Linked DNA regions of Homo sapiens: region 1 is linked to region 2. Evidence: promoter capture Hi-C in human tissues and cell types (Jung and others, 2019). All regions are on one chromosome and are shown on one strand. Each heading gives the region's core, a stretch centred on a gene start or on the middle of the fragment in contact. The rest is flanking DNA. Distances are from core to core; before and after follow the strand shown. Region 1 holds the start of ALOX15 (arachidonate 15-lipoxygenase). Region 2 holds the start of SMTNL2 (smoothelin like 2).

Region 1 (2,700 bases), core at 14-2,513, 57 kb before region 2:
GTGGGTGGATCACAAGGTCAGGAGTTCAAGACCAGCGTGGCCAACATGGAGAAACCCCGTCTCTACTAAAAATACAAAAATTATCCAGGCATGGTGGCAGGCGCCTGTAATCCCAGCTACTCGGAAGGCTGAGGCAGAGAATTGCTTGAGCCCGGGAGGCAGAGGTTGCCGTGAGCCGAGATCGTGCCATTGCACTCCACCCTGCATTCCAGGGTGACAGAGTGAGACTCTATATCTCAAAAAAAAAAAAAAAAGGAAAGCTAATTCACTCTGGTGGGGTGGTGGGGGGTGAAAGTACCGGGTAAGACTTTCCTGAGAAACCGGAGGTGAACTAGGGTTTAGAAGCATGAATAGATGAATAGACTAATCCAGGAGCAAGTTCTTTTGAGAGAACAGCAGGTGGGGTTCTGGGGAACACATGGCTCCAGCCCAAAAAGAAACTGGAGACGAATTAGGGTTTAGAAGCATGACCAGACTAACCCAGAAGTGAGTTCTTTGAGAGAACAGCAGGGGCGGCGGGGGGAGGGGGGGTTCCGGGGAACACATGGCTCCAGCACAGGAGATGCCAGGGTGCAGTGGGATGAGAGGTGAGGAGAGCAGGTCAGGTTAGCAAGGGCATTGAATGCCAGAAACATTTGGACTTTTATTCTGCAGGCAACAGGGAGGCAGCGGCTTTTATGCTCAAAAGGAATGAGTCCCAGTGGCTGGCACAGAGAAGGCAAGTGTGCAAAGCTGGTCGAATGAATTCCGTGGCCTGAATGTACCTTCCTCAAATGCCACTGCAAACTGGGTCTCCTCGCCCACTTCACCCTCTCCTGCAATCCAACTTGTGAGGCTTGTGTGTGCGCGCGCGTGTCCTTGCGTGTGTGTGTGTGTGCACGCGTGCGTTTAGATGGAGGTTGGCTTCCCAGCCACCCAGGCTTGGCCCAAAGTCCGTGGTACACACGTGCATAACTCCTACCCCCACCTCGCCTGCCTGCTGTACCAGGCGTTGATTCCCTCTTCCTGCGTGTTTTCGGTCCAAATCCTTTTCTTTTTCTCCCTCCCGTCAAGATAGTGGTTTCCACTCCCTGCTCTCGCCAGGACACCGCCTTTTGGACTGGGGCTGAATTCTGCCCCTTGAAGCTCTGCTCCTTGGAGCTGGGGGCCCCAGCGGTAGGCGGAGTTGATTGGAGACCTGCCACCCACATTCCGACCCCAAGCGACCTCCGAGAGGGCGGGGTCTCAGGCTGGGTTATTTAGCTCGTCCACCCTTCTCCACCAGAAGGAGCGAAACATCTTTGAGCAAGATGGGTCTCTACCGCATCCGCGTGTCCACTGGGGCCTCGCTCTATGCCGGTTCCAACAACCAGGTGCAGCTGTGGCTGGTCGGCCAGCACGGGGAGGCGGCGCTCGGGAAGCGACTGTGGCCCGCACGGGGCAAGGTGAGCTCCCCAGAGCCGGGCGGGGTGGGCTGCGCCCCTGGCTCCGAGTCAGTCAAATACCGGGGAGGACATGCGCCCCCGTTGGCCTCTGGCCGATTCTCTTTGCCAAGGGCCCGCGCATTGGGCTCAAAGCGCGCGGAGGCCACGGGGGTGGGGGGCTTTAGGGCAGTCGGTGGCACACAGTAAGCGCTCAATAAATGTTGCCGCTACCCGATCTCCTTGGAATTGAGGGCATGCTCCTGTGCGCCCCTCATTGCACAAAGCTCCCTTGTCTGGAAACTCAGCAGTCACTGGAGCCGCCGTCGGTCCTCTCGCTTTCTCTATTTTAAAAACCGTTTCAACCGCTAGCGCTGTTGGATCTCTACCTTTCAGGCTTTATCACCTGGGGTGGAGTGGGTGGTGAGAGGGAAGGGATGGGGAGTCAAGACAGGAGAACGCTCTCGATTTCCCGACCCACCTCCCGTCATATCTCATGTCACATCTACCGGGTGTTCTACCCGGTCCTGTTAACTTTTTTTCTTCCGCGAAAGCCCAAATTCCCATCACTGCTCTAGCTCTCTCCCAGATCCCCAAATCCGGATGTCTGTCTCAGGGAACGTCAAAGCAACATGCCCGGATGAGGTCCTCCCCTCTCCCCACCTCCCAGCCCTCTCCTCCTGCCTCCCCCGGTGTCACCCGCGCCTCCTTCCTCTCTTCACCTCCCTCTAAACAAGAATCCGGCGCAGTCAGTTCTAGACCCTGAGCATCTCCCGCGTCCCTGCCCAATATCCGTCCCGCCCCCGACCGCCCGCGTCCTCTTGAACCTGCGGAGCCCTGCTCCCCGCACTCCACGCCCTTGCTCCGAGCTTCCGAGAAAGCGGGGCAAAGGGAGCCAGGAAGAGAGAAAATGCGCACGGAGCAGGTGGCCCCGCGACTCCATGGTGAGGGGACGGGGCACGGAAGGTGGAAAGGCGCGCTCCCTCCTCCCTTTTTTCCTCCCTATGGTGGGCAGTTGGTGACACACAGTAAAGGCTCAATAAATGTTCCCGCTACTCGATCTCCTTGGAATTAAGGGGATGCTCCTGAGCGCCCCTCATTCCACACAGCTCTGGTGCCTGGAAACTGCGGTCGCCGGAGCGGTCGTCGGTCCTCCCGGTTTCTCTATTTTAAAAGCCATTTCAAACCTCCAGCGGCCTCGCCACCTCTGCTGCAGACCTTCCAAGCCCTTCTGAAGCCGGAATGATTTCTCCCTAATTCACTCCCCCTGCTTAACACATTCGAACGGCTCCCGCTTGTT
Region 2 (2,700 bases), core at 198-2,697:
ATCTCTGGCTGCCCAAACTTGGTCTGGGGCCATCTCCCACCCTGGATGGGACCTCCAGGGGGAAGGCCCAATCTGATACCCTCCTCCAGGCCCCCTAGGGTCCAGCCCAGCCCACAGCGGGAAATCTGAGAGCCCCAGGGATTGCACCAAGGAGGGAGCAGGTGCAGGCTACACAGCCCCAGATCCTGGGAACCCAACCCGAGAGCACATGCCTGATCAGGATGGAAAATCCCACCCAAGGGCCACTGCACACACCATGGACACATTCTAACTGCTCTGGGTGGCCCATGCGCAAGGTAGTGACTGGTCCACGTCGGCCTCCGCCCTATCCCCACGTGGTGTGGGCCTCTGGCTAGTCACTGACCCGAGGAATCTAGACACGGCTCAAGGCGGGTTTCCACCTCTCTCCCTTCACGGTAAGGGATTTACCCCCTGCGATGGAGAGTTCCCAAAAGCCGCTGCTGATCGCGTCCCCCTCGACCCCCCTCCCCACCCATCCAGGGGCCTGAGTTCTCAATCTGAGTTAATCAATAACCAGAGCCGTCAGGCCTCAGTGAAGCGGCAACGCAGGGGAGCGTGAATGGAGGGTGGGGGTCAGGCAGGGGTGTCGACCATTCCAACATGCCCCGCGTGGCTCCAGGCAGTGCTGAACAGTCAGGGGCCGGACTTCGGCGCCCAAGCCGTTGATGTCATGGGACAGAGGAGAGAGGGAGACAGGACTCTGAGCAAACAGAGCCTGGCTCTAAAACAGGGCGGAGGACCAAGACAGGTGCAGCTGGCAGGCTCAGCGGTCCTCCCCCCGCCCTCTCCAACTCCGGAGGGGCGGCAGGACCCCCATCACCTAGTCCGAGCGGCCGGTGAAGGCCCCAACCCCGCAGACGCGAGCAGAGGCAGGCAGTCGGGGCGAAGGGGCGGCACCCGGTTCGGAGCCCCACTCCCTGGCGCCAGCGCACGCGCTCCCCCGGGCTCACCTGGCCGCGGCCGGACAGCGAGAAGGTGGCGTGGCTGGCGAAGCGTGCGCTGCCCAGGCGGGGCGCGCGGTCGGGAACCCCGGGCGCGGGCGGGGGGCTGGGCGTGCCGGGAGTGCCGGGCACCGGGGACATCCCGCTGGCCAAGCCCAGCGCCTCCACCTGGCGCGTCAGGCGCTCGAGCTGCGCCTGCAGCCGCTGGTTGTCCCGCTGCAGGTCGGCCACCGTGCGCGCCAGGGGGCCGGCCAGGCGCATCGCCTCTGCCACTCGCCGCTCCACGCCGCGCTGCAGCCCCCGCATGTCCTCGTGCAGCGCGCGCACCGCACCCTCCAGCGCCGCCTCGTAGCGGCCCAGCGCCTCGCGCACAGTGCGCGCCTCCTGGGCGTCGGGGGCCGGCTCCATGGCCCAGCAGAGCGCGCGGGTCGAGAGCGGGCCAGACGGGGGAGAAGATCCGAGCTCCGCAGCTCCGGGCCGCGACTGGCCGTCCGTGGCTGGCTTCGCTCGAGGGGCTGCCGGGGAGGCGGGCGCGGGGCGGGGCCTCGGGGGCGGAGCCGGGGACGACTCCGGGACACCCCCCTGCCCTGGAGCCCAGCGGGACGGTGCGGAGGGAGAGCTCGCCCAGCCTCTCCCCTCCCCGGCTCTTAACTGAGCCCTGCGACCCCGGAGGAGCGGCGTGCGGCCTGCGGGAGGGGCGGCGGGCCCACCCGAAGAAGGCCCTGGCCCCCCTGGACCGTAGAGAGCACACCCGGGCTGACGCGTTCGCTCGGGACTCTCACCCGCAAGGCCCAGGTTCCTCCGGGGGCGGAGACTCCCGGGCTAATGGGGACACCTACAGCTCCCACAGCTGCCGCCCCACTCCGCGGGGCCCTCCCTATGCAGCGGCCACGGCTCTCGCAGGCACACGCTCACCTGTGGGACCTTCGCCTGGAATTTCTTGTATCTGTTCTAAGACCTCAGGGAGGAGACAGGTGGTGAGGTCCCCTCCCTGACTCTGCGACTACGCGCTGTCCCCTCCCAGTCCTACTCTGTATAGCAAGATCTTCGTGCCCTTCCCACTAGTGGTCGGTAGAGGCTCCCGACCCACCAAGGGGCCTCCGTTAGGAGATCCTGGAGAGGCTAAGGGCAGACAGAGAAAGAAGGGTGTGCTGGAGCTGCATCTCCAAATCCTGGAATGGGCGGCTTTGCGACTAATCGCCCCCTCCCGCAATGAGAGTCTCAGTCACTGGCCTCTACCCGTAGGCCAGGGGTCTTACCCCTATTCCTTCTCAATGCTCTTTATGGCTGAACCCAGATAGTTCCCCCTTCCAAATGCACACCCCAAACCATCACCAGAAAAGGGAAGAAGGGAAACAGGTGTTGCTTTAGGACGATGGGATGATGGGCAAAGCTAACTCTAAGTTTTCGCTATATCATAAAGCTGATTTAAAATAAAAATGAGAACATATCCTCCTTTGTGCAAAAAACCTTTCCTAATTGGCCTTCTTTTTCCCAAGCCTGGCCTGCCTGAAAGAGGCCCAGAGGCTGGGCATGCATAGCCAGCTGACCTGCAGGAAGGAGAAGTCTGAAAGGCTTGTTCATATCATGTTCTGCTCCCAAGGTTGTTTGGAGCCCACAAACCCTCCTGGACTGGCCATCATTGCCCCAAAGGAACTGGAGCAGCCTGACAGATGCTAAATGCTGGTTCTCTCCCCCGCCCCCAGCCCCAAGGGGACAGGAAGGAACGCTGGGTTAC

Evidence for each region. Contacts are between HindIII fragments. The study calls those that stand out against the background at their distance.
Region 1: the fragment with the promoter of ALOX15 here is called in contact with the fragment with the promoter of SMTNL2 in region 2 in 9 of the 25 tissues and cell types used here (IMR-90 fibroblasts, bladder, dorsolateral prefrontal cortex and 6 more).

What each region holds. Positions count from the first base shown.
Region 1 is chr17:4,640,241-4,642,940 of GRCh38, reverse strand. ALOX15 (arachidonate 15-lipoxygenase) reads left to right here and starts at 1,263. Exons shown (of 14, transcript NM_001140.5): 1 at 1,263-1,424. The coding sequence starts at 1,290. The HindIII fragment of the contact is 22,491 bases long and covers 1-2,700 here.
Region 2 is chr17:4,583,276-4,585,975 of GRCh38, reverse strand. SMTNL2 (smoothelin like 2) reads right to left here and starts at 1,447. Exons shown (of 8, transcript NM_001114974.2): 1 at 972-1,447. The coding sequence starts at 1,370. RefSeq lists enhancers at 1-468, 1,089-1,708, 1,709-2,328. The HindIII fragment of the contact is 15,336 bases long and covers 1-2,700 here.